7 separate regions of the Homo sapiens genome follow, and regions 1, 3, 4, 5, 6 and 7 are each linked to region 2. The links are contacts of gene promoters, found by promoter capture Hi-C in human tissues and cell types (Jung and others, 2019). All regions are on one chromosome and are shown on one strand. The core of a region is centred on a gene start or on the middle of the fragment in contact, and the rest is flanking DNA. Distances in the headings are between cores, read along the strand shown. Region 1 overlaps SEMA5A (semaphorin 5A). Region 2 holds the start of SEMA5A (semaphorin 5A). Region 3 has its middle 23 kb from the start of LINC02112. Region 4 overlaps SEMA5A (semaphorin 5A). Region 5 overlaps SEMA5A (semaphorin 5A). Region 6 overlaps SEMA5A (semaphorin 5A). Region 7 overlaps SEMA5A (semaphorin 5A).

Region 1 (3,857 bases), core at 1,310-3,809, 480 kb after region 2:
ACATCACTGGTGTGTTCATTTTGTGCAACTTTCTCCTTTCCAATAATTTCAGCCACTTTGGCATTCTCCAGCTCCCAAACCTGTCTTCTCAGTCTCTAGCCTGTGCCTGGGTTTCTGCTCCCCATGCTGTGGCCTGGGAACCTTCTCAAGGCTGTAGGTTGTGGCACTCATGGGTCTCCCATAAGTTGTCTCCCATTACTCAGTGATCACTGACCTTCATTGCCTGAAGTCCAGTACTTTAAGAACCATTATTTAATATAACTTTTTGTTATTTGGATAAAAGGGTTAATCCAGTTTCTCTTACTCCATATTGGTGGGAAACAGAAGACACTCTGTGACCATATAATTTTGAATGCACCACATTCCTTTATATACCTTCCTTACTGGGTACAACTAAACTAATTTCCAGAACTTCCAGTCAATCTTTGTTCTGTTTGCCACAAGCTCCTGGGAGCATGGTTCTACTTCCATGTAGATACTTGAGTGTTTTGGCTCTTTGCAAGCACAATTCAATTACTTTGTTATTTCTCTAATGTGAATTGCTTTCAGTCTCAGCAGGCCAAGCTTAGTTACTGAAAGAGAACTTGATAAATGCATATGGAAACCATAAGTATTCCATATGAGAATAAATTTGATTTACATATTCAGTTGTGGATGAGATGACTTGAAGGGTAATTTTTGGGCTTCACTCTGAGCATGTGGTATCAAAATTCTGCTTGGGTTGTCTCTGTCTCTCTACTTTACTTGCAATGTATGAAATATGAGATATTTTAATTTTCTCAAGGGAAAAATAAACAGCAAAACAGGAGGTCCCACTTAACTATCTAAATCTGTTCCCCAAATGTATGCAAATTTCATCTCAGTAGACTTATCTGTTACTTAATCAATATGATTTATCCATTTACCAAATAGTGTTACTATGCCCAAGATTGGTAATATAAAATAAACGTGACAAAGTTCTTGCTTTTGACAAATTTGCAGTCTATTAGTGGATGCAGAATTATAAATAGGCACTTAAGCTTTAAGGAACTACATGCTTTGATTCTCTAAATCAGGCCTATGGTGATGGGGGCCTGAATTAGAAGAGGCAATTAAGATGGAGAGGACAGAAGGAACACAGGAAGCCATGACTGTAGTACTTGGCATAGAAGTAAGGGAGAACTGGCAGAGTGTCTCCCGGGTTGCAGGATTAAACATTTAAATGAGTGCTTTTATCACTGTTGACTGGAATACATAATACGTGGGGAACATATTTGGAGGAATTATTTATAATTGCTTTAGTAAGCATTCTTATCTCATATTTTGCACCAGAATATTAAGAACCTTAGGTGCCAAATCATAATAGTTAGCTTCCTGAAATCCTTTTTAAAATCATTTATCTCTTTAGTATTAAGTGCAGTTTTGTTAAAGTTCCATTTACATTTGGATAGTTACAGCAGCAGTTCTCTAGTAAATTGTAACATACATATTCAGTTAAGCCATATAAGTGATCACAATAGAATTAAATCACTTCATGATTTTGCTCATTAAGATAAAACAAATTGGCCATACCATTTCTCACCATTTCATAATTTGATACTTCAAGTGAATGTATCATAATTAAACCTCAAAAAGCACTTGAAAGGAGAAATTCTGAGTCTCATGTTAAATTTTGAACCATGAGAAAATAAGAACATAAGAACAGACTGTTGTTGGAGGCTTAGATCTGAAGAGACTAAACTGATCTTTCTTAGCCGTGAGCTGTGCCCACCTCTGGGACCAACACACAGATGCCAATGCAGACACTTGAGCCAGCTTTCAAACACATTTGCCCCTCATACATTTCAAAAATTAAACTTCATCTCCATAGAAAGAATGAAGTTTGCAGTGTGGGAAACCTAAGAATTATTGGTGGTATCCTATAAATCTGTTTATGAAGATGTAGGATTTTACTAATTTATAGGTAATGCTGCATTTGTTAAGACCTAAAGACCAGCACTTTTCAAACAGAGGCCCATAAACTGCACATGATTTTTGTTTGTTTGTTTTTTTGAGATGGAGTCTCACTCTGCTGCCCAGGCTGGAGTGCAGTGGCACAATGTCGGCTCACTGCAACCTCCGCCTCCCAGATTCAAGCAATTCTCATGCCTCAGCCTCCCGAGTAGCTGGGACTACAGGCACCTGCCACCATGCCCCGCTAATTTTTGTATTTTTAGTAGAGACAGGGTTTCACCATGTTGGCCAGGCTGGTCTCGAACTCCTGACCTCAGGTGATCCGCCCACCTTGGCTTCCCAAAGTGCTGGGATTACAGATGTGAGCCACCACGCATGGCCGAGCTGCATGTGTTTTGAGCCCATTTCAGCAAGGAACTCCAGGATTCTTATCTGGCCAGGCTGGCTCGGAGTGAGGGAGGGAAGGGCAGTGGCATATGACATTCTCAATCCAGAGGTGAGAGCATCCCCACACTAGAGGCACAGAGGGTCCAAGACAAGGGTTTATGGCTTTCCTGTCATGTGGTTTTCATTCCAAGTGAAAGAGATCACACACGCGTTGTGCCTGGCTTTTCACATGACTGGGTTTATGGCATTCATTGGGGCTTTTTCATTTAAGAGGCAGCATTCAAAAGATGCCATAATAAAAGATGCTATAAACACAAGAAAATGAAGTCATCTATCTTTCTAGTATTTGTTGATGTAGAGATCATGCAGGCCGGGAGGAATGCCTAGAGAGTATTAAATCAAAGAAACAGCGATGATCGCCTTACATATTTTCTGTTAAAAGCCTATGATGTCACAAAAATCCTGAGTGTTATCCGCTGTAAAAAAAATAAAAAATAAATGCATTGTGAGTAAAGAAAGCTAGTTAGAGTATTTAAAACAGTACAAAATAAAGATTGTATTAGGTTCCCAGGTAAAGTTGGTGGCATGGACACACAAGTTGCTTTCTATCCCACTGGAAACATACTAATACAGTGTTAGAGGGGTTGATTTTTCAAGGCATGAATGCGCAAAGTCAGAAAAAAAGAGAAAGAACCATGTTGTTTTTAAAAAGTAGAATCTGGAAATACATCGAAGAAGCATGAATTCAAGTCTAACAGAGGAGAACTATGTGGAAGACAATGCTTCCCAGTCCTGTGATTCTTAGAAAGGCCTGCTCGCAAGGCTAGCTGTTGGCTGGCATCTGGGAATCTGGATTTCAGGAAGGTTTCTACCATTCCCAGATGGCAAGAATGGCTCTCTGTGCTTAAATTGTCTGTACAAACAATGTGGTGTATACTGAAAGCTTCCTTGGGGGAATCTGAACTTTTGGTACATGCAAAACAAGGATGCTTCTGCAACCAGACCCCGGTGAAAACCCTGAGCACCAAGTCTCCAGTGAGCTTCCCTGGTAGACCACCTTCCCTGTACGTCATCACAACTAGCTGCTGGGCGACCTGAGCACATCCTTCATGACTCTGCTGAGAGAGGACTCTTGGTTGTGCTGCCTGGCTTTGTCTGCACTTCTACCCCATGTGCATTTTCTCTTTGCTGATTTTGCTTTGTAGTCTTTTACCGTAATACATTTTAGCTGAGAACACTGCTGCACACAGAGTCCTATGGATCCTGCTATCTAATCATAGAAACTGGAGGGATCTTGGGGACCCCCAGCACATACATGAAAATAATCATCTCAATGCACACCAGAGACCCCTCAGAGAGCTTAGGAATCCACAGCCCCATTTTTTTTGTTAGTGGCAAAACAACATTGGGTGACTTCTGTTTAAGAAGTTATCAGACCTCCATACCTCTCTCCCACTCCACCAAGGGGACTAGACCTGCTCTGTCCAGCAGATGATAGGAAGCTTATTTTCTGGAGAGGAAAACAGAGCGTCTCTGGA
Region 2 (3,729 bases), core at 470-2,969:
CAAGGGAAGGGAGAACGGTTAAGCTTTTCCTTCAGGTCCCCAGGAGCCTGCAGCTGCCACACAGCAGGCCGGGAGCCCCCGCCACAACCCAGGGAGGAATGCTTGCCAAGAAGGCCTGCCCAGCTACTGACACTTCCTCCCAGAGGTCTTAAAGGAAATCCCAGTAAGGCCTGAGTACCCAAGACAGCCAGATCACCCGTGCCAGAGACTGGGCATTTGGGGATGGGCTGGGCTTTCATAGAAACCTTCGGAATTGCTTTCACTTAATTCTTTTATTTTAAAAAAAAGTTCTAGAAAATAAAGACACATCGATAGCAATTTGTATTTCCATTGTCCTCTTAGGTCTGCATGGCTACTGTGCGAGCTATGACACCCTGCAGCCTGCAATAGCTTCTTTGTTTTATGGATGAGCTCAATGGAACCCTTATGGACGCACCGGACCATGCCCAGGACCAGCGAGGCCCATCCATACCCCACCACTGGCTGGAAGGGCGCTGGTGTGAACGTGGGTCCTTGCGGGGGTCCCTACCTCACTGCGGTCAGGAGGGGGCAATTCACACATTTCCTCATGCAGGGGACCTTCAAGCCTCCCTCTGAGGCGCAGACTGAGTAAAAAGGGCCCAGAGATACTGTCCCGCACCCCCATCCAGTGGGAAAGGGCCACTCAAGGCCAGTCAGGACTCCCAACCCAAGTTTTATGCCTTATACTCCTATAACTTTACCATTTGCTCTTTTCGCGAGGCTGACCCCCTCCCTCTCCCCCCCCACCGCCTCCTCCAGAAACTGAAGAACTGCAACAAAGTGTCCAATTATACACGTCTTCAAAGGTACTTTACTTGCTTCCCAATTATCAACTTTTCACCTGAGTACTTAGTAAGGCCCAAGGATCCTGCAAAAGTGCAACAAGGAATAATTGACACAGAATTGGACGAATGACTTTGACCATACGGGACTTCTCTCTTAACGCTCAGCGTGGCTACCTGGGGACGCCTTCTCTGGCCTCCCTGATTCGTCAGATTTGTTCATTTCCTTGACTTAATCCCGCTGAAATCGACCCGAACTAGCCGGGAGTCTCACCCCCAAAGTGCTCCTCCAAGAACCCGCAACGACTGACTCTCTCGTCTTCTTTAAGGAGTTTCTCCCTCAGAACGGATGAGGATGTCACACAGAAAGAACAAAATCACAAAGTTCGAGTTCCGGAGGACCAGACGGCCCCTGCCCCCCATCCCCCGGGCCAGATTTAGCCGAGGGAACCGCACGTACCTGAAGCCGAGGCCGGCAGAGAGGGAGCGCCACGTCTCAGGTCTCGGCCGGCGCCCCCCTCCGGGGTGCAGCCACGTCTGAACCGGGACAGCGGGCGGGGGAGCCGCAGAGGGACCCAGTGAGACGGGGGAGGGAGCCCCCAAAAGTCAGCGCTCGGCCGCACTCGCACTGGGGAGGCTGGAATGGAACTCCTGGGGTGCAGCGGGGCTCCCAGGAGCGAAGGTGGGGGTCCTGTACCGGGAAGGGGCGGGGCCCGGGGAGGGGCTCGGGGAGGTCAGGCGCGGGTGGGGCGCTCGAGTTTCACCCCGGCGGGGAGGAGGAGGAGGAGGAGGCGGCGCGGCGGCGGGGGCGGGGCAGGGGCGGGGCGGGGCGGGGGTGGGCCCAGGCTGTCCCCCGCTCCCCGCCCAGCGCTCTCCGCCCCGCGCTCTCCGCGCCCGCTCGCCCCGCGCCGATCTACTTGCCGGGAAGGCGGCGCCGGTGGCGGCTGCTCTCCCTGAGCCCGCTCCCGAGCGCTGCTTTCCCGCCGCGGGTGGGCTTCGCAGCCTCAGGCCAGCCGCGGCCCTTGGCCCGCTGCAGCCCCGGCCCTCCACCTTCCCCGTGCAGGGGCGGCCCGGCCAGTGTCGCTCATCCCGGGACGCTCCCTTCTCCCACCCAGGACTGCCCCGCGGAGCTGGCTTGGACACCCAACTTTGCCACCTCGAGGGTCGTCTCTGCTGGGCGCGAACCTGCCCACCCACCGGTTGGCCGCGCGCTCGGGGACCGTGCTCGTGGCCCCCAAGCCGGTGCCCCCATTCTGGAACTCAGCGAGTAGGGGGCGGCTCTGGGGAAGTGGCAGGGGGCGGCTGCAGCTGCTGCCTCCACTTCCCTAGCCAGGTGCTGAAGAGGATCCTCGGAGCCGCTCTGGCCCCCAGGCGCTGGATGACTGGCACCAGCGCTCCTCGCACCTGGTGAGCGACCCCCGCCCGATTCCTGCGTGGCCTTGGCAGGAGCCCCTGACCGCGCCGCGCCGCGCCGCGCCGCTGGCCGGGACCCGGGGACTGCAGCGGTCGGCTGGTGGGTGGTGCCGATCTCGGGTGGGATCCATCAGCAGGCACCTGGGCGGGGGTTGCGCGTACAGGATTAGGACGACCGTCAGTCCGGGGGCGCCCACAGTTGAGCTAGTGCACGGGCTGGAAGTTTGTGTACCCGCCTGTGCCGAGGTCTGAGCATGGAGAGGTAAGGAGCCGGAGTGTCGCGGTGGGCGAGACGGGACCCCTGCCCAACACCCGGAAAGGTGCGCACACTGGTCTGTGCCCGCCCCCGGCGCGCCTCCAGGCTCGCACTGCCGCGAGCCGGGGGCAGGGGACACGGAGGTCGGGACTTGGCGGTTCGGGAGCGGCCACCTCGCAGCCCCACCGGCTTGGGCAGGTTTTCCTGCTTTCCTTACAGGGGAACCGGGAGGCAATGGGACTTGGGCTCAACTCCGCCAAGCGCCTTGGTTAATGAAAGACACTAAGGCGGGGGATGCAGAGGCCTGGGGAACCACCAGCCAGGTGCGCTGCAGCTAGGCGAGCCCCTTTCACCAGGCATCCCTCCGCTGCTCCACGGATTTTGCACACCGCGGCTCAGGGTTTCAGACCCCAGGGTTTCGGGCAGATCGGGCTCCAGAGGGAATGGTTTCTCCCAAGATGTGCGTGGGAACGGTCGTGGAGGAGTGATTCCCCCGGCTCGCTCCCCGCGGCGGCCGGTGCCTGGCTTGGAGCGGTCACATCCCTGTTCCCCTGGCTTTGGCGGGAAGCGCGTTCACCTCCTCGCCCTTTGCTTGCTTTGTACCAGGATGCCGCGGCCGGAGTTGGGATTTAACTTTCCTGCGCCTGCGGCGTCCTCGGGATTCCCGGCAGGGGGCGCTGCGAGCGAGCGCTCGGAGGACGAGGCGCCACAGGCAGTTGCTGGGTCCTGGGCGAGTGGGCGGGAGTCCCAGGCAACAAACAGCAGAACCAGGCAGATCTTGCAATAATTTCATTTTGGGGGCCGGGGGTTGGGGGAGCTGATCTGGTGGCTATAGAGAGCTGTCAGCCTTGCTAGGAGAGGGGACAGGAAAGGTGGTGGCCAGACATAAATGCTCTAACTAGAAAGGTCTCTTCCAGAGAAAAAGATCGCTGTAAAGTCTTCCTTGTCTGGGCATCTGCCTTCCTTGTGACTGTTACATTTACTCAGAAAGAAATCGAAATTGAGGGAAGATAACGTGAGCTTTGTTTAATACCGTTCTGCTTTTTAGGGGTACTTTAGTTAACACATCAGGAGTCACAAATGATTGTTCTGGTTTGTTTTGAAGAAAGACAAGTTTTACGTCTAGCTTACCGAGAAGAGCTCTGTCATAATGGCTGAGTTTGGAATCAGCAGATATGTTATTAATTATAGAGGTAGTCTGTTCATAAGGAGACAGAAACACAAAACCAGGCTTTAATAAGAAAGATTTTTCAATAC
Region 3 (3,915 bases), core at 947-3,446, 380 kb before region 2:
CTCTTAGACTTTCCTGGAAGAAAATGGAACAAAATTCACACCCAGAAAAATTTTTAGGATCCTGGAATTAGATAAAATTAGGCAGGTCTTAGAGGGCATACTTTTCATAACAGTTTATGTAGCTTTGTTTGCTAGCTAACACAAAAATAACAACAACTGTAAGACAGACAAGAAACTCAAAAAGCTCTAATGCGTTATTGAAGCACCGTGACTGTGAGAATTCCTCTGCTTGGAATGGCTTGCTTGCAGCTGTTGAATGGTGGTGTTAAGTTGCCTGTGATTTGCAGTAATGTGCCACCACGTTTCAGTCCATGGGTGCTCAGTAGTGCGAATGAGGTGTTGGATGCACCCAGAGGTGGTGTCGCCTGTTCAGAATGTGAGAGGGAAGTGGGAGGGGGCAGGGCAGAGGAGGAAGCATGGGCTGTTCCGCACAGGTAGAGGAAAGGTGTGTTTTATGCCAGGGAGAAAGGGACATGGGGAAATGTGGTATCTGTTAGCATGAGTGGAAAAGAGCCAAGTGCAGTAAAGAAGTATTTTTCTGATTAAGAAATGATCATCTGCAGTGAACGTTTATGGCTAATAATGATTTAGAGAAGGAAGAGCTTCAGGTCACACAGGACATTGGAAACAGACCTTCTGATATTTCTTTCTAGGGCACCACAGCCTGATTCACTCTCTAGAGCTGCTCTGATCAATATGGCAGCCCCTGGCCATATTGATCCTACAAACTCTGCTTTGACTAAGTTCTAGAAGAAGGGGAGTAGAGGGGGAGAGAAGAGGTTTGCTTCTGAGGGAGGGAAGCAAATGCAGCCTGTGAAACAATGTTCTCTCCACTCTCCCTTGAACTACTCAGCATGTTTCCTGTTTAACCTTGGGAATTATTTACAAAACTGAAAAGTTTCACTTGGCTAACTGAAAGTAGTTGTTGTTTTTTTAAAAAAAGATGTGTGGTGCTTTTATCATTTTAGAAAGATAAAGCTAAATTCTTTCAGCCTTTATTTAGAGATAAACCTCTAAATCCTGGTACACACATATTTTTTAATCTCACCCCAAGGAAATAGCATTCTGATCCTTCATGAGTCATCATTCAAATTCAAGCAAACATCCTGCTGGTTTAGTTCTCTAACCTTAGTGTCCAAAAGGTATTTCTATTTGGCGAATCACCTTGGGAGTTTCCCACCTCTCCTTCGGGCATCACCTTCTCTTCTGGGCGACAGTCGTGCAGATTACACTGTTCCACCAAGAGTGCCTGTTCTATCACTGTGAACACATTAACATACCATGCATGATCATTACAGAAGGCACTATGGGAACCACTTGGTGAAAGGTGCTTTGTAAAAAATAATGCTACATAAATGGAAGATCATTATTACTAGATTAGCTTCTGTCTTTCAGACTAATTATTTCACAGTCTTCCAGAATGCACTGCATTTGCCATCTGCTGGCCCAATTACCTAAATGATTGAGATTCCTTTAAACCTGGTCACACAGCTCCTCATTCTTCTTTGCAACTCCCATTTTAGTGTTGTCAGCAGATTTTAGAGCCCTGTTGTTCAGATCCTTGTCAGAGCCACTTAGCTTTATGATGCGTGGCAGTGCTCCTTGAAGGAGCCAGTGACTCTCCTTGCTAACTCAAAGTTGAAGGCAAGGGAGGCTCACTTTAGTTTCTTAATCTAGTATTTGCTTAGTTTTTGTCATCTACTATTTTGTTCTCTCTCTTAAAGCTTTACATGGAGTCTTTTTGAAAAATCAAATAAAGCTACATAACACCTGCTTTCTTACATTTCTTCATCAACTTCGATGGAGGTGAATAAATTTTGACTTCTTGGCCATATTCTTTAAAAATTAAATTCTGGAAAGTTAGTTAAGGATGATTTCTTTCACATCTGAACCCTTTTTGCTTAAGCCATTTTTTCTACATTGTTTGCTTTACTAGTTTTCAAATACTATTCTTTTTCCAGATTAGGTCTCTAGAAGAAATTTTAATTTGTATTCTAAATTTCCATGGTTTGTTTAATTCTCTGGTAGATATGTATATGCATGTTTAAATCAATCTGAATTAAGCTTGAAATTGGACATTGAGCAGAGAATCGTGGCATGGCCACAGGAATCCCCACTCTTACCACAGGGCATAGGCAGTTGCAAGTGGGCACTAAATGCTTTGGTGTTGAGTTTTCAGGTAACTCAGGTTTATTTTGGACACTGCCATTGCCAGGACCTCTCCTCTTCTTGCAGATATTCTACTCTTTACTCTGCCTTATTTGTTAATACAAAACAGTGATTTCAAATCAAAGTAAATAATATCATTGGTGGCTCCATGCTGTATGCCAGTCATAGGCTTAATAACTATGGATGATACACAGCATTTTTAAAAAGTATCACTGCATGTTCCATTGCCATAGTCAAATAACAATGAAAGCCTTAAATATCAGTTTTTGATATCAAAACACTTCATGGTTAATTGGTGAATTAGTCATGCAAACAGTAATTACTGCAGGAAATCTAAGAAGGGAGAGATCAATTTAAAAATTATTTTTCAAAATGAAATGGATTTTAATTGTTTTTTATGCTTGCAGACATAATATGCACTTATTATAAACAGTATGCAGAGATGCTAAAAAGAATGAACCAGAAGTCATCTGTAATTTCTACATAGAGGTAACCACTATTAACAATTTAGGATATAGCCTTCTAGGCTTTTTTTTTTAGTTGTTGTTGTTCTATAGTAACATATCAGTTAGTCTTTGCTTCATTACAAACCATCTCAAAGCTTAGTGGCTTGAAATGCTAACCATTTAATAAATGATTCTGTCAACAAAAAGACTCAAACTCTGTAAAATGTTTGAAAAGATTTATTCTGAGCCAAATATGAGTGACCATGGCCTGTGACACAGCCCTCAGGAGGTCCTGAGAACAAGTGCCCAAGGTGGTTGGGGTGCAACTTGGTTTTATACATTTTAGGGAGGCATGAGACATCAATCAAATTACATTTGAGAAACACATTGGTTCAGAAAGGCAGGACAACTCAAAGTGGGAGGGGCTTCCAGGCTATAGGTAAATTTAAACATTTTCCTACTGACAATTGGTTGAGTTTGTCTAAAGACCTGGGATCAATAGAAAGAAAACCTTCAGGTTAAAATAAAAGATTGTGGAGACCTGGGTTCTTTTGAAGTCTTACAGTGGCTGCCCTTAGAGACAATAGATGACAAATGTTTCCTGTAAAAGGTGTTAGACTCCTACTTAATCTCCTGAGGATTGGGAGGCCTGGAAGAAAAAGATCTAGCTATGTTAATAGAGATTCTTTACAAATGTACATTTTTACCCAGAAAGGACAGCTTTGCAGGACCATTTTAAAATATGGCAAAGAAACATGTTTTGGGATAAAATATGTTGACTTTCTTCTTTGTCACATAGTGTTATATGCCATATTGGATTTGGAAAGTAAGTCACGATATATAGGGTTAAATAAAACCCATCTGGTGAGAATTTATAGTTTGTAGGGTATGACTCCCCAGACCCCTTAGATAGGAATTTGGGCAAGATAAAAAAAATTCAGCATAGTCTGCAATTATTAAGGTTGCAATTTGGGCTGGGTTCAGCTGGTCAGTTCTGGTCCAGGCCAGTCTCAGGTGACTGCAGCTGTTGAATGGTGGTGTTAAGTTGCCCATGATTTGCAGTAATGTGCCACCATGTTTCAGTCCATGGGTGCTCAGTAGTGAGAATGAGGGGTCAGATGCACCCAGAGGTGGTGTCGCCTGTTCAGAATGTGAGAGGGAAGTGGGAGGGGGCAGCTCCCCTCAACCTCAGCTGAGCTTGGTCCTGTGTGGGCAGTGAGCTGGTGATGGGTCTTGACTAGCATGGGTAGGAGAGCTAAATCCTTTCTTCAGTGGCTTCTCTTGCTGCACGAGGCTGCTT
Region 4 (3,831 bases), core at 217-2,716, 300 kb after region 2:
TGTCAATAGAACTCTGGTGAGACAGGAAGGAATTAGGAATCTGGGAGATCCTGCCAACTCATTCACTGAAAGAGTCCATCGCACGTGGGTTAAGATTGTGGACCCTGGAGCCAGCCAGGGTGGCCTGACTTCATAATCCCAGGCCATCCATTTAAAAGCTCAGTAATCTTTGGCAAGTTGTTAAGCTCCTTTCTACCTACTGTGTAAGATGAATGTAATACTGGTACCTATACCCTAGATTGTTGGGAGGGTAGAGTTAGTTATGATGGGCAGAAGAGTACCAGCCATCTTCCCCATCAGGAGTTGATTCATTCTTATCTCTTGAGCATGGATGTGCTCCTTTGGACTAACTTTCCCAATATGTCTTGCCGGCAGCTCTTTTAGGCTGTTGTACTGTCACACATTGTCTGATTCCAGGATTCTGTTTTTGCTTTGCTCCTCTATTATAGTTACACTTGGAAACATTGTGTCCACTCCAGATTGATTGATGGCTTTCTGCCGTATACATTTACATATTGGTTCTGGTTAATCTCATAGTGCTGATCTAAATGTTGGTAGTCATGACTCATAGTCATAGTCAAAACTTGAGAAATCAGAGTCATACCTAAAGTATTTTTAGAAAATAGCATTGAATTTTTGCTGTTGATATTGTGAATTATAATTGAGACACAGTACAGCTGAAACTTTAGTGTGAATTCTAAAGTTGGCTGATTAAGGAAGAAATGCCCTCCCTCTTCTAGGTTGGAGACAATTAATATCAGCATTTAATAGCATGGCTCTTTTCAGAATTTTTCTCAGATGTGATGTCTAGCACTTTTTCTGCTGTTAGATTACCATAGGCTGGGTAATTTATATAAAATATTAGGTTATTTGACTCATGGTTCTGGAGGCTGTGAGGTCCAAGAGTTTGGTGCCAGCTTCTGACTAGAGTCATCCTAGTATGGAAGGCATCATATGAAGAAAGCTCATGAGACAGAGGGAGAACACTAGCCCAAATTTATCCTTTTCTCAGAAACCCACTCCAGTTATAACTAACCCACTCCTGAGACAATGGCATTAGTCCCATTTAGTAGGACAGAGCTCTCAAGACCTAGTTGTCCCCTAAAGGTCTTACCTCTTAATACTTACAACAGCAATTAAATTTCAACATAAATTTTGGTGGAGCATTAAAACCATAGCATGTGAAAATCTAAGAAAAATGTAATACTAATAGATATGAAAATCTTAATTTGTTAGTCTATTTTTCTTATGTTTTTCCACTTTTAAATTCCAACTTCTTTAGCTTTGCTAAATGTCTTGGAAGTCAAGAGTTGTAAGTTTTCTCTCATTTTGAAATTTATGTTTGTGTAATTTTTTATATCTTATTTGCTTGACTTAGGACACAGAATTCCAAACAAATAAATCATTATTGTATTACTTTGAAAAAGAAGTTCTTGTACTGAATTACTTTGAATTCCTACAGTTTTAAAGGTAACTTTCATGTGATTCATAAGATTTTCTTTGGTTGGTTTTCCATTTGTTTTAAAAATCCAGAATGTATTACCAATGAACTAAAGTGTGTTTGATTTAAAAGTGTGATGATCAAAACATTGTATGAATTCGGTCTTTTTTCTTGAACTACTTTGCTATTTTGGAAGATTTACTGTCTTATTGTGTTTTCTTTAAACAGGATCGTATAGGTAGTTTTATTTGTCTAAGGTTAAAGTTACTTATGGGGGTGGAAAGAAAGCAGTTCAGAATTGTGTGTGGCATTCAGTCCAAACCCAGCTTAAGGAATGGGTGGGAATTAGTTTCATACTGTAGATTAGGCAGACTTGTGCTACTGCTGTCCACCCACACATCTACATGATCAAAAGACAGTGCCCTTCCCACTACTAAATTGCTGGTTACCCATCCCTTCTTCTATCCCTATTGTCCCTGCTAATTTCAGGTTCCCAATGCCTACCTGCTGGTTGCCTGCAATGACCTCTACATCACTCTCCTTGTATTCACCACTACAGCCACACTGCTTTCCAGGTCTTATACCCACAGAGAAGTCTTTCTCAACTACTTGTCTCTCACCATGCCAATATCTTGCTTAAAATTTTATTCATGGCTTTTCTTCAACTCATGAAAAATAAATCTGAACTAACTTCTTTTAGCATGGTTCAGGAGGCCTGTCCTGAGCTGCATATCAGCGTGTAGCCAGAGACCTCTCCAATCCCCACCCTGGGGTCCAGTTCTCCAGCTTAGATGTCCTTTCTTCCCATTTCAGGCCTTTGCACCAGCTTATTCATTTGCTTTTCTTGAACATCTACTCTTCCACTTATTCACTCACTGGTCAATTGCTTCAAGATCCAGCTCAAGCCTTGACCTCCCTAAGAAATGTTCCTTCATCCATCTCCAGATCCCTACATCTGGGTTGAGTGTTCCCCTTCAAGACGCCCAAGATCACAGCATGTTTTCCTTAAGAGGTCTTTTATATCAACAACTACATCTTTCATATATATTGTAGGGCAGGAAGAAATAATTTTCCCTCTACTCTTCTAAATTCTCAGCTGGGCCCTTGTAACAAAAGACATATTAACAATAGAAAAACAAGTTATAAAAATATGTTTATGTCTTACACACACGGGAGATACCCAGGGAAATGAGTCACTCTCAAAGAGATATCTTAGAATTCAAGCTTAAATACCATCTTCAGCTAGATTAAAGAAAGAAGTGTGTGGGAGAGGTAAGTAATGGCAACGTGACCAGAAATGGCATGGTTAGCCGGAGTAAGGTTTGTTGTGCACATTTAAGTCAGTGGCTTCTCCATTGACTTATCTCCTGACCAGGATCATATTTCTCTTCCTGGTACAGTAGGGGAGACACCCTTACAAATAGAGATTTCCTTTATAGATGTAAGCTTACCTTACACAAACACAATTTCTACTCTGTTTTCAGAGCTTCTCCTGTGTCTAGGCTTTCTCAAAATAATCAGCTCAAAATAATCCCATGACAAAGGCATATTTTGGGATGACATGTTCCAATTTCGTACAATGGGCCTGGCCCAGATGTTTGGTAGATGGACACACAGATACTAACATGTCCACCCCATGCTCCTAAACTCGCTTGAGTGTGACTGTGTTCATGTGTGTAATTCATGTGTATGTATGTATGTATTAGTTTTGTATGGCTGCTGTGACAAATTATCATGAACTTGGTGGGTTAGAGCAACAGAAATTTTTTCTCTCACAGTTCTGGAGGCTAGGAGTCCAAATTAATTCTTATGCGACTAAAATAAAGGGGTCCCCCGGGCCACACTTTCTCCAGAAGTTTGGGGGAAATAATTTGTTCTTTTTCTCTTTTGGCTTCGGGTGGCTGCCGGCCTCCTTGACTTGAGGCTCCTTCATCACTATCTCTGCCTCCACGGTCATATTTCCTTCTCCTCTGTATGCTCCGCATCTTCCTCTGCCTGCTTCATATGAGAATGTTTTCAGTGATGTTGAGATGCTCCCTGAATAATAGATTAATGTCTCCATCTCAAGATCCTTAATTTAATTATCTTCAGTCCTTTTCTTTTTTCTTTTTTTTTTTTGCCGTATGAGTTAACTTCACAGGTTGCAGAGATGATGATGGATATCTTTTAAGGGACCAGTGTTCATCCTACTCCAATGCTCCACCCTCAGATATACACAAAGTTGTGTTTCAAGGCCCTAATTGGTGTAGGCAATTAATTTATTTCAAAATCAAATTCCTTTAGTAGGAAATTGAGTGAAGTTGTAACATTTGGCAATTAGTTGCCAACCCTGGCTAATCACATAACAAAAGGAATGATTTAAATAGATGGAAGGGAAGGAGTGCCTCATG
Region 5 (4,192 bases), core at 23-2,522, 390 kb after region 2:
AGGAGAGAGGGAGATGGAGGAGGGTGTACTTCTCGTGGCAGGAAGGAGGAGGGGGCATCACAGTCGTACTGGATATTTGAAGCTGCCAATCACATTGCATTTTCCTTGCCCTGCTGGGCACCAAAATCAGCATCTCTGTCACTAAGAATCCAAGATCGTCCCTTGAGGGTCTTTCTTTCCTGATGTTTTCCATGGGATGGCACAAAGCTTGCTACTTTGAGCTCTCCATCCCGAGACTTGGAACTGGAAGGGTCCAATCGGACATGATTAGTCCTCATCCCTTGCTACATGAGAGCATCATTTTAAAAGATACTGCTGCCTGGGCCCCACATCCAGTGCAGCTGACCTAACTGGTCTGCAGTGGTGTCCAGGTGTACTGTTTTTGAAGGATGCTCAGATGGCTTTCCTGGCTGAAGATCCATGGCTGCATACACAGCACACTCTGTTTAACCAGGGATTGGTTTGTGAGACCCTCTGACCTTGTTTCCTTTTCATCCTGTGACCTTCATAGATTACGGAACCATTAAGAAAGTGCGGGTACCCCTGAATCAGACCTCAAGCAGCTGTTTGCTGGAAGAGATTGAGCTCTTCCCTGAGAGGCGGAGGGAGCCCATCAGGAGCCTGCAGATCCTGCACAGCCAGAGTGTCCTGTTCGTGGGCCTGCGGGAGCACGTGGTCAAGATCCCCCTGAAGAGGTGCCAGTTCTACCGCACACGCAGGTAGGGCATCTCCGGGGTCAGGATGCACTGGTGTGTGTGTGAAGGGCCCACCCAGAGAGAGCCAGGGAGGCTTCAGATGCCCTGAAGTTGAATGGCCTCAGAGCCACCCTTCATGCCTCTGAGAGTCCTGTGCTCTAGGATGCAGAGCTTTCATTAAAATAGATTCACTGTGATGAGAATAACCCACCAGTTCTCCTCAGAGGAGGAGCCACGTTATAATACCTGTAAGAAGTTGTCAGGGTTAAAATAAATTATTCAGTGCCTTAGAACACTCAGTGGTAATACTGATATTTGATGACTGTATTAATATGTTAATCTGGCACAAGCTTATATATATGTATATATATATACACACACACACATACATACATACACACACATACACACACACACATATATATATATATATATATATATATATATATTTTTTTTTTTTTTTTTTGAGACACAGTCTCACTCTGTCACCCAGGCTAGAGTACAATGGTGAGACCTCAGCTCACTGCAACCTCTGGCTGCCAGGTTCAAGTGATTCTCGTGCCTCAGCCTCCCAAGTAGCTGGGAATACAGATGTGTGCCATCATGCCTGGCTAATTTTGGTATTTTTAGTAGAGACAGGGTTTCACCATGTTGGCCAGGCTGGTCTTGAACTCCTGACCTCAAGTGATCTGTCCACCTCTGCCTCCCAAAGTCCTGGGATTACAGGCTTGAGCTACTGCACCTGGCCTCAAGCTTGTATTTTATTTGAATATAGAAATAACAAAAAATATTATAAGGTATACGTCCTTCTCGACCACAGCTCATATGCTGATAACCCCTTGAGAAGAAGGAGTGGTTGATGTTGCTGCAGTGGCACCCACTTTCCGGGACACCCCCCCCTCCCCCGCCACTGTCCTTGGCACCAGCTCCCCTGGAGTGCTGCTTCTCTCCTGAGCCTGCAGAGAGGGTAGGGAGGGAGGTCTCCAGCCACAGGGAAACCCAAGAGTCATTGCATCTTCCTTCACCCTCAGGCCAGTCTTATCTTCCGTGGGACATCCACGATCAACCACAGTTGTGTTTAAAGTTTAATTTGGAAACATGTTGGCCCAGGTACTTAGGAAATGAAAAAGTACTGTATACATCACACACCTGACCAGCACTTTACTCCGGGAGATTGTATATACACTCTGATCCCTGACAAAAGATCGCCCTTGGGGAAATCAGAATCTTAAATGTTCTTAGGCATCTTGTTTAATTCCACTCCTAAAGCAGGGTGTAATTGCAGATTTGGAGTAGAAATAGTCCTTTTTGATATATCACTCACAGACATCTACCCTACACAGGCCACTCTCTCTCTAAACAAGGTGCCAAGTTACACTGGCTTTGGAACTCAGAAGCTAGGGTTCATGGAACAGACCTGTTGTTGCCTTTTTTTTTTTTTTCTGAAATGGAGTCTTGCTCTGTAACCCAGGCTGGAGTGCAGTGGTGTGATCTCGGCTCACTGCAATCTCCACCTCCTGGGTTCAAGCGATTCTCTTTCCTCAGCCTCCTGAGTAGCTGAAATTACATGTGCCAGCATGCCCAGCTAATTTTTGTATTTTTAGTAGAGACAGGGTTTCACCATGTTGGCCAGGCTGGTCCCGAATTCCTGACCTTGAGTGATCCACCTGCCTCTGTCTCCCAAAGTGCTGGGATTACAGGCGTGTGCCACTGCGCCCAGCCCTGTTGTTGCTGTTTCTTGACCCAGGTCGCAAAAGTATTTCAGAATTCACTTTGTCACTCAACACATGTGAATTGCTGTAGACTCAAATAGGATAATATATAGAGTATAAAATTTAAGCACTCTGCAAAGTGAGTATTCTTAGGTGGAAGGAAGGTTTTGATGTGTAATCACAGCAATAAGCCTGTCAAGATGATTCTAGAAAATGAAGTCTTTAATGTCTCCTTTGAAATGAGAGAGAGAGTTGAGGAATAATGCCAGGAACCTCCCAGCTAATCATAATGATATTGTGAACATTAATAACAGCTAGTGGTATTTATTAACTGCCATTCTTATATATGCTTACTTCCTAAATTTAACCACTGGCTGCTTGAAATGTGTTCTGGTTTGTGTTCCCTGCAGAACTAGCCTAGGGAAGGAATTATTCTTCCTCCAGTTGCTGTTGGTTCAGTGGGTAACAGGATTGGGGTCTGGCCAACAGGATGTCATAGCTGGAATATATCTAGAAGGACACCAGTCTTTCAACTCCAGCTCAGTGAAGGATGACCTTTTTGGAGGGTGACACGGGATAACCCACAGGAAGCCGCAGGCCTGTGCTGTCTGCAGGGTGATTCTGGTGCCAGAATGGGAGTGCATGGCTTACAGAGCATGAGGCAATTCATCTTTTACAGGTTGCTCTCCTTCCTTGAGTCTGGGTCATAATCGCTCAGCCTCTTGTACACGCAACTTAGGAACTAAGTTCTGCATCAGATCAGTGATGAGAGGCACAGTGTCCCTGGCATCTCTCATGCACCTGAACTGCCAGCCCACTTGTGGATCCACAGGAGCTGGTGCTCCAGGCACAGAGGCCTGGGGAGGAGTTCACTGTTCCCTCTTTCCTTTCAAGGAGAATGATGACACTGGTGTGTCTTCACTGGGCTCCTGAGAGGGAAGGAGCTTGACATTTATAGCTGGAGCTTAATCATCCTGCTGTTTACTCTGAGAGAAGCAGTAAGAAATCGTAACTTCATTTTCAACTGATAGACTATAGTCTTCTGTGTGCCCTTCCTCAGAGGGGGTTAGTTTTTGCCTGGTCCTTTAGTATTTCATTCGAGAAAAGAAAACTAAAGATTTCAACCCAAGCATTTCTCTGAATATTTCCAATGTGTTTCTCTATTATCCTACTCCTGTAGAAAGATAGGAAACCCTCCCTAGTTAACATTCCATGGAGAAAAGAATCTTTAAAAAAAAATAACTGCACAAACATTTTTTATAAATTATAAGGAAAAATTGTGGGGTTTTTTGACAAAAGCAATTTTAATCTTTCAGAAAGATGCTTAAAGAAGTACACTAAATAGGAATAGGAAAACAATTGGGTAACGATTGGATACTAATTTCTTTGCCAATATACTTTCCATCATAGAATCTCAGTAATGCCATTTATTATTGGAAAACCAGTCTTATAAATGAATCTTGAAGTATTTAAAAAGGGAAACTGCTTATCTAAATTACCCATCTCCTTCTAAATCATGTTTACATGTTTAATTTTCTTGAGTCTTTTTTCCAAAGACAATGCACAATGACATTTATTAAAATGTGTATAAATGATAACTGATACAATTTCACAAATTTCTTTCACATATCTGACAATATGCTAGATTTTGTGAGAATTTGGCGGGATTATTATGTCAATCCTGAAAGTAAAGTAGCATACCATATCCATTGTTCAGATGAGGAAATGGCAGCTCATATTTTTGGTGTCCTGCTCAAAGTCACATAGCTACTGCAACATGAGACC
Region 6 (4,082 bases), core at 1,045-3,544, 360 kb after region 2:
CTCAATTCTAGTGTTTAGAAAAGCATTTGAACCTTAAATTGTATATAATCTTAAAATGTTCTAAGCTTAGATTGTGGCAATAATTGCACAACTCAGAATATACTAAAAATCAGTGGGTGAATTTTATGGCATGCAAATTATATCTCAATAAATATATTTTTTAAAAGGAATGTGATCTCTTTTTGTGTTATATTTTATAAATTGTTTTAGTTAGAGGATAATTCATAAACATTTATATAAAAACACCTATCAGGCACTAAAGAAATGTAAAGGAAGAAGACATACACACACACATTTTGAATCATTGTTTTTCATTTCAAACTTGCAAAATTTTACATAGAAAAATCAGGGGCAGCTAATAGATGAATATAAAGCAGGAAACATTCATATAGAGGTTTATATGCTTCTAGCTGCTGAACTCATGTGAGATTGTGCCATGTTTATCACCTCTGTTTCCTTCTCTTCCCCTAGCCCCAAGGTTAATTGTATTGTGGAATGAAATATTTATAGAAATCTCAAAAAATAGAGCTGGGCACAGTGGCTCACACCTGTAATCCCAGAACTTCGGGAGGACAAAACAGGAGAATCACTCGAGGCTAGAAGTTTGAGACCAGCATGGACAACATAGTGGAACTGCACATCTACAAACATTTTTAAAATTAGGCAGGTATGGTGGTGAGCACCTGCAGTCCCAGCTACTCTGGAGGCTGAGTTGGGAGGATTGCTTGAGCCTAGGAATTTGAGGCTGCAATGAGCTAGGATTGCACCATTGTACGCCAGCCTGGGAAGCAGAGTAAGATGCTGTCTCAAAAAGGAAAAAAAAATATGAAGGCTCAAGACCTTCAACAAAGAGGGAGCCTGGGCTGAGCTTCCTTCTCTGCATCCCTGTCCTGTCACTTCAGTCTACAGAAAAGCAAATGGAATAGAAGGCATCCCAGCAGGAGCAGGACATGTGCCACAAAGTTACTTTGCTTGGAAAAAAAAGGGAGAGAAATGTAAATAAAGTCAGTACCCAGAGTTGAAATGATGAAAGAAACAAAATGAGATGAAAAGGAAGTTCACAGAGATAAGCGAATAAATAGAAGATCAAAATGACGTGCTATTCTACTACAAGAGTAAAAATTAAATTAGAAACTTCATGGAAACAAAAACACAGCTAAAGCTTAGACACAGAGTAAATGTTTGCAGTGATTAAGGTGGAAAATGTAGAAATAAAAGATAAGGTTTTAAATATGAAGGACCCACAAAGACAATGGACCACACAGAGTGATTGGTGTCTTTGAACCAAAGAACCCTGTCTGTGGAGCTAAAAACTTGTGCCCAAAGACACTATTGGAGAAAATTACCCTGCAATAAAGGAAGAATTGAGTCTGCAAATTTCAAAGCATACTGTATTTGTGCAATATTAATTCAGAATAAAGGAACACTAGCCAGGTAAGTTTTTAAATTCCAAGAATACAGAAATAATTATTTAGGTATTGAGGAGGAAAAAAAAAACTAAAAATGAAAAAAAATCACATGGTCTCAGGATACTCTGCAGCTGTATAAATCTGTGAAACATGGTTATGCAATATTCTGAGAAAAAGAAAATGTGAATTGAGCATGTTATACTCATCCAAGAATAAAAAAAAACAGACACTCACAAAAATGAAAATCTCAAGGAATAGAAAACCAAAAATCTCTTTTACAAACATGAAATAAGACTAATTAGGGGCTAAATTCAGCCAAATGATGAGAGAAGGTTTGAGAAAGTAAAACCAAAATAGGGGAACACTCAATACCAGATTTCAAGTAGAACAATATATACACACATTAGAGGAAAATAAATGTGACTCAAGAATGTTATTCTAGGCTAATCTTTCCATCAAAAATAAAGGTACATGGAAAATTTAGGGATAATGTATCTGTGATTCCTACTTCAAAAACAGACAACCTTGGCTGCTAGCCAAAGAAGAAAATCAGAACAAAAACCTCAGGAAAGACGTTGTGGAAAGAGGGCAAGTGAGGTGTTGGGGACCCATTTTACTATCTGAGGAAGAAGCAATAAGGTGTCACGTGAGCCAAGGCTCTGGGGTGCAATGGAGCATAATGAGCTCAGACAACAGAGAAGGACCGCTCATTGGTCAGGTCGTAAGTTCAACCGCAGGTTCTCTCAGCCTTACTTGACCCTGAACCCTTGGCCATTTGCTCTGCCTCAGCTGCCCCCGTGGCTGACAGATTCCTGGGCAGGACCAGGAGGTTCCTCCAGTTGATGCTGAGCAGCTGGTGGTCAGGCGTCTGTGGCGCTGTTGCTGCACCTGGGCTTGGATGAGATCGCACGCTTCTGGGAGTGGGATATGGCTTCTCAAGCAGGTGCTGGAAGAGCTGGTAGCTGCAGCCCAGAAGTGCAGGAGGATGAACTCTCCATGAAGCAAGCCTCACCCAGAGGGATGTCGGGTATGGGCAGAACGCAACTGGTGAATTCCCCTTCCATTTTCACCTCCAGGCGGCTGTCCAAGGGCAGGCTTCTCATGTAGCCAAGCAGATGTCTCTTTCTGTTTCATCATAAAGGAAGAGCCCCATGGTAACAAATCATATAGCACCACTTCCTGCTCTTTCCTGCTCCCTATTCCTTTCCCTCACCACACAGCCCTGGGATTGCACCCCCAGTAATGCATTAGCACCAAATACTTGAATCCTTCCCTCTGTTTTCTAGGCAACCACAGTAAGAGATCCAACAATGCCTGGAGTTCATTCAACCCTGTAGAGTTTCTAGGCTCCAGATGCAGGCAGGGATAGCTAATATGTGCCTTCTAGCTATGTTTAAAAATTCAGATTTTAATCTAAGCATAATAATAATTACTGAAAGTTCTGTAAAGAAAAGAAGTTACATGATATGATGCATGTTTTCAAAGATTACTATCTATACATCCTGGAGAATTAATCAGAGGATAACAAAAAGGGTAGAAGGAGGGTAAAGTTTGGGGTACAATTTCTTTCTAAACCAACAGTACTGTATTGCTACAGGATCCGCCATTGTATAAAAATAAGCAGGCATTCTAGATGTCATTGCATTGTAACTGAGTAAGGAAGAGTAGGCTGGGGTCAAAGCTATTGAAGTCATCAAGGTGGTCTAGGAGGAGGTGAGCATGGCATGCTCAGCCAGAAGATAGGCAGATGTCACCCTCAATGAAGCAAACATTGGTTCTTAGGGGGACAAAAAATCTTATTTTTATTCAAATAGACATGGACTATACAAGCAAATATACAGTACAGAATATCTGTAGTAAAATTTCATGGGTGAGGGGACAATCAGGAAAAATGTGAGAAGTCTTCTTGTAGAAGTGATAATGGAACACCTATCAGTTTGAGAAATGCTGCTCTTGGTTAATTTCTTGAAGAGAAGCTGACAGATGCAGCAGGTGTTTTGGAGGAGTGAGAGAATGGGTGCAATTAAGAATGACTCCTGATGTTTTTGGTTTGGACAGTTGATACTTCTCGTGGCCTTTGCTGAAAAGAAGACACTGGAGTTTTTGTGCCAAAATTCACTGGAGAGGGTTCAGCAATGGACAAGACAGACAGACACCCTGTCCTCAGGAAGCGTATTTTTTTTTGGGGTGGGGGGCAGAAGCAATAAAACAAGCAGTTGCATTAAATGTTAAATAGGAAAAAACGAAACAGGAAGATGAGATGGGGGAGGCAGGGCTTTCAGTGGTAAGAAGAAACGTGCAATGTGCGGAGAGAAACAGGTCCATTAAAGTTGGAAGTTGTGCTGTCTTTCATGGAAAATTGGGGTGCAGAGAGATTGGGGTGAGTTGAGGAGGAGATAGAGGTCAGGAAATAGATACCCATCTAGACAACTTCTTAATAGATGAGGGACTCTGCGGCTGGGAGTGAGATGGGGCAGGGGGTTGGGGGAGACAGCAGATTGAATCGAGTACCATGCGGGGTTGGCAAGGGTACTTTACCTGTGGGTGTCAGCAGACAGTTTTGCACCTGTCATGGGGAAATGCATCTGTAAATGTTTCTAGTCCCCCCTCTCCATCTCCACATACTCACTGTCGCATCCCTTCCGGACCTCAGAGGAACGTGTTTCTATCAAT
Region 7 (4,342 bases), core at 1,223-3,722, 490 kb after region 2:
TACCGAGCATTCTTCAGTTACCTTCCTCATGGGACGTGTTAGCTTTTCTCTATCCCACTGTCAGGGAGTAAACCATAATCCAATTAGTAAAGGAGCTCGTGACTTGAACTACTTACCTTGGCTTTAAGTCTTGTCTGGCTAGTTAGATGGCAAAGGTGAGAGCTGGCTGGGGCTTTACATCAATAACCGTACAAGGTGGTTCATGGTTGTTCTCAGGGGCTGGAATTACTATGACAGCTCGTGCACTCTGCTGTCATGTTTGTACTTAGATACGATTGATTTAGAAATGTTTTCTGAAACAGTGAATAAAGGGAACTGAAAAAGTGTAGGGAGGAATCTGTAAAACTGGATCTGTCACCAAGAGGAAGACTCCAAATGCAGCCCTGCGAGGGGTCAGAAGCCTTGTTGCTACGTGTGCCTATGCACTGAAGCCTTTCTGGAGTGCAGATTCCATTTTGTTTCCCTTACTAAACAGAATCCACTTAGCTTCCATTTAGTAACTCCTTTCACTTGGTTGGGATTGGATTATAGAAGAGCTGTGACATTGTGTTTCTTCACAGTGGATGGCGTGTGGTCTTGCTGGTCCCCCTGGACAAAATGTTCAGCAACATGCGGCGGTGGACACTATATGAGGACCCGCTCTTGCTCCAATCCAGCCCCGGCCTATGGAGGGGACATCTGCCTGGGGCTGCACACAGAAGAGGCACTCTGCAACACGCAGCCCTGCCCAGGTAAGCGGCACCTCACCTACTGCACAGCTTTCAGACAAATTGGCCTCTTTCCTTAATGGATAAATGGTGTAATTGATGATACTGCATCATGGTAAGTACTGAAAGGGGGGTGGGCAAGTTAGCAACATGCTATTACCCTTGAAGTGACTTTAAAACATAGCATCTATAATAAAATAGTTCTCACTGAGCTATAGATTCAGAACTCGTGTTCAAAGCCTTTAGCCCAGCAATGGGAGAGTGCTAAAGGCTTCAAGCACGAGTTCTGAATCTATGGCATGTTACAACACCCAATCTCCCTAATTAGGAAACATCCCAATTTATTCTTGACTTTGCTAATTAACACTAGTGACCCACAGGTGACACCTTGCTGTGTTGAGGGAGAAAGTCCAAGGAAAGGTGGGAAAGAACGAACATTTTTAGTGCCCCCCATGGAGTCTGGAGGTCTGAGTGGGGAAATCGCCTGCAGCCTTTTTGTCTCAAAACCAGCCTGGGTGCAGCCACATGTCTTCCAAAGATCTCCAGACCTGTGTTCCAGGAATGACTTCTAAAATGTGACAAGGGGACACTAAGCACTCTTGCAGGATGCTTCATCCATGGTCGATGGGCTGTAATTTAGAGGTAGTGCAATTAAAGGAAAGAAAAAGCATGACATCAAATCAGTAAGTGGAGGAGCACAGCAAACAACAGAAACTGGTGATAGCAAAGCATTCTTAAAGCCAGTAGCCTAATAACAGAGTCTGAGGTTTTGTTGTTGAAAATCAGGGTGGAGAGCAGGGAGCACCGCTGTGAAGTGCACCTCATAGGAGCCAGCCTTGGGCCCGTGGGTGTGGGAGCTCCTCGCTTCAAGCTCCCTGTGGCTGATGCAGGCGCTTGGGGCCTCCACCACCACCACCATCCCAGAAATAGCTTGGTTTACTGACATGAAGGAATGACCTGGAATGAAAATGAGCTATTCTTTTCTTGGTCTAACTTTGACATTGAAACACACAATTTTTTTTAGCTTGCTCCTGCACATCTTTCTAGAAGGTTCTATGTATATTGAAAAGGGCCTTAAAGCCAGATTCTCACTGTCATTCCAAAAACTGGCACTTTCTGCATTTCTAAGGAAACATTTTACCCTTTAACTGGAGCAAAGCACAAGTTTGATTTTCAAATTTTCCCTGCCACTACAAAGTGGATGCTTCTATTTAAAAAGGGGAAAAAAGCAAACTGCATAGAAAAATACCTTTTTATCCTGATTAAAATTCCATAAACAATATCCAGAGTTTTTTTTTTTTAACCTTCTTACTTATATAGGAGTCTTACTCCTTTCTTTTCACACATCTGTATGCCTGGGTGAATTTCACACATCCTAGTAAATCTTCCACTTCGGGATGAAGTATCCTTTCAATGCCCCTCTTTTGGCCTTGACCCAAGACTTGTGCATTGACCTTATCTCTTCAGAGACAGCAAACACGAGATAAGATGAATTCTACATCAAGGGTCACCTGACTTTGGCATGTTGACTCTGCGGAATTGTTTTTATAACAGAAAAGAAAGTAATTGTGTAGCTTCAGACTCCCTTTCAGCAACCCAGGACTCTCATGAGCACACAATTATTTCTCTCGCCTGAGCACAGAGGAAGGTGGAGAATTTTCAGGAATGTTTCAGGAAAGCATTTGAGTTTCTTTGAGGGGAGCATTACCCATAGCAAAATGGCATCTGCATTGATGACTTATGTACCGCTGCTGCTGATGGTCTGCACACAGCTGGGTCTCATGGATTCACTTATTGAGTGTCTAAATACAATTACTTTATAACGTTAAAATAATGTTTATTTTAAGCTCATGATATCTGATCAAATATATAACAGCGCAGGCACTTTTATTCATCCTCGTGTGTACTGTATGTACTGGATCTGTTAGATGATACAACTACATCTTACTGATGCACAGAACCATTAAAAATATGCTATGGAATCCTGGAATCCAGAAATCACATATGTAACTTGCCAGTGAGTCTAGGATGATTGAGCTTACTGGCCATTCCGCCCCATCTCCCCTTTTCTGGTCTCTGCAGAGAGCTGGTCGGAGTGGTCGGACTGGTCTGAGTGTGAAGCCTCTGGCGTCCAAGTCCGCGCCCGCCAGTGCATCCTCCTGTTCCCCATGGGCAGCCAGTGCTCCGGGAACACCACGGAGAGCCGGCCGTGTGTGTTTGACTCTAATTTCATCCCAGGTAAGAGCAGAGGTATTTATCAGTAAGAATAAAATCATTTCCAACATGGAGAGAGAAAATGATTCATAGGTCAGAGTTTTATTTGGCTTATTTGGTGAAATAGAGATGATTCCATCAAGCCCCATGGTTTCAAGGTGTTTAAAACGTAGGTCTATAGATAACTGCAGATTTAAACATGAATTCAGTTCATGAATTTAAGATTTCTTAGGAAAAGTGTCTTTTGCAGTTTATCAACTATAATGCAATCAGAAGACTTTGCTCAAAAAAATGAAAATATTTGGTTATTATTAAATATGTTTTGGTTATTTGGTTATTTTAATATTAGGTTAAATGTTTAGGCAGTGCTCGCTGTGTATGCACTGGCACACAGAGAAAAAGCACCATTCTCTTTATGCTATCTTTAATATACTTGAGAAGGTAGAAATGCATCATTATTCTCCTGTTGGAGAAGAGGTTGGCCCTCATTCAACCAGCTTCTCATGGTAAAGTCAGTGTGTAGTTGTTGGTGATAGCTGATCACTTGTTGCATGCTCACTGTGAGAAGGTGCTATATGAATGCATAGATCATTGCGCATATGTCCACTGTGTGCCTTAGGACTGTTAGGTGGACCAGCCTCTTACAAATAAATAGTAGAGTTGAATTCTATAAGCCAGTTTTCTTTGTTTTCTTTCGTCTGTGCAAAAGATACTATTTTAGAGAAAATTAGCATACCATACCTCAGTCATGTACGGCACAGAACTATAAGAGTGGTTGTTATTGTTTTCCTTTTTAACGATAGACATATTTTTAATTCTTGTTGTCTAACAAAAAATCAGTACAGGAAAGAATGGTGTTTCTAGACTACCGAGTGATATTTTATCCTCAGGAGTTAAAACATGTATGAGATGTGGCCTCTCTCTGCATCCTACTGTGGGTTTCATGTGTGGCATGCCAAGAGCATCAGTGGCCTCCTGAAGAGGGACTTCACTTGTTCTGGAGATGTCCTTGAGCTCTGGTGAATGGGCCCTCCCTCTGCCGGGAAGGTGACAACACTGGCTTTGATGGAACAAGTCTCAGAAGCAGGAATACCACAGGAGTACTCTGTGTGTTGGGCAGAGTGGGGGGATCCCCCCGGCAAGACACCTTGTAATGGAAAATGAGCACATTCCCTGCTTTCAGCCTGAGAGACCATAGCATTATCTTTCTGTGATAAATGAATCTTATCTCTCCCCAGTCAAGGTGATTTGGCCAAATCCATATCAGGTTGGTTAAAACAAGCAAAGAAACAAGTAGAATTTTTCTGATAATTAATCAAGCTTTTGAAACTTTGTGTCACATAACATTCAGAATCATTAGACAAACATACATGAAGCATGAATGTGGACTGTCTTCTGAACACCTTTTACACATTGTGATT

The links. Contacts are between HindIII fragments. The study calls those that stand out against the background at their distance.
Region 1: a contact is called between a fragment that was not itself captured here and the fragment with the promoter of SEMA5A in region 2, in 1 of the 25 tissues and cell types used here (mesenchymal stem cells).
Region 3: a fragment that was not itself captured here is called in contact with the fragment with the promoter of SEMA5A in region 2 in 1 of the 25 tissues and cell types used here (dorsolateral prefrontal cortex).
Region 4: a contact is called between a fragment that was not itself captured here and the fragment with the promoter of SEMA5A in region 2, in 1 of the 25 tissues and cell types used here (aorta).
Region 5: a fragment that was not itself captured here is called in contact with the fragment with the promoter of SEMA5A in region 2 in 1 of the 25 tissues and cell types used here (mesenchymal stem cells).
Region 6: a fragment that was not itself captured here is called in contact with the fragment with the promoter of SEMA5A in region 2 in 1 of the 25 tissues and cell types used here (dorsolateral prefrontal cortex).
Region 7: a fragment that was not itself captured here is called in contact with the fragment with the promoter of SEMA5A in region 2 in 1 of the 25 tissues and cell types used here (aorta).

What each region holds. Positions count from the first base shown.
Region 1 is chr5:9,068,545-9,072,401 of GRCh38, reverse strand. The region is part of intron 16 of SEMA5A (semaphorin 5A); the gene reads left to right. Among named protein-coding and RNA genes, the nearest start is that of MIR4636, 17 kb to the right of the region's middle. The HindIII fragment of the contact is 3,533 bases long and covers 793-3,857 here.
Region 2 is chr5:9,544,065-9,547,793 of GRCh38, reverse strand. It overlaps SEMA5A (semaphorin 5A), which reads left to right and starts at 1,719. Exons shown (of 23, transcript NM_003966.3): 1 at 1,719-2,210. It overlaps SNHG18 (small nucleolar RNA host gene 18), which reads right to left and starts at 1,594. Exons shown (of 3, transcript NR_045196.2): 1 at 1,264-1,594. RefSeq lists a silencer at 1,596-1,785. The HindIII fragment of the contact is 8,719 bases long and covers 1-3,729 here.
Region 3 is chr5:9,924,886-9,928,800 of GRCh38, reverse strand. No RefSeq gene overlaps it. Among named protein-coding and RNA genes, the nearest start is that of LINC02112, 23 kb to the right of the region's middle. The HindIII fragment of the contact is 4,916 bases long and covers 1-3,915 here.
Region 4 is chr5:9,248,285-9,252,115 of GRCh38, reverse strand. The region is part of intron 5 of SEMA5A (semaphorin 5A); the gene reads left to right. Among named protein-coding and RNA genes, the nearest start is that of MIR4636, 200 kb to the right of the region's middle. The HindIII fragment of the contact is 4,321 bases long and covers 1-3,626 here.
Region 5 is chr5:9,151,015-9,155,206 of GRCh38, reverse strand. SEMA5A (semaphorin 5A) reads left to right here. Exons shown (of 23, transcript NM_003966.3): 12 at 512-719. Among named protein-coding and RNA genes, the nearest start is that of MIR4636, 99 kb to the right of the region's middle. The HindIII fragment of the contact is 3,389 bases long and covers 1-2,966 here.
Region 6 is chr5:9,181,672-9,185,753 of GRCh38, reverse strand. All of the region lies in intron 11 of SEMA5A (semaphorin 5A), which reads left to right. It overlaps LOC124901170 (a long non-coding RNA gene), which reads right to left. Exons shown (of 2, transcript XR_007059120.1): 1 at 2,298-4,082. Among named protein-coding and RNA genes, the nearest start is that of MIR4636, 130 kb to the right of the region's middle. The HindIII fragment of the contact is 3,359 bases long and covers 615-3,973 here.
Region 7 is chr5:9,050,476-9,054,817 of GRCh38, reverse strand. SEMA5A (semaphorin 5A) reads left to right here. Exons shown (of 23, transcript NM_003966.3): 19 at 561-731; 20 at 2,790-2,945. It overlaps MIR4636 (microRNA 4636), which reads left to right and starts at 923; the gene lies at 923-1,002. The HindIII fragment of the contact is 9,174 bases long and covers 1-4,342 here.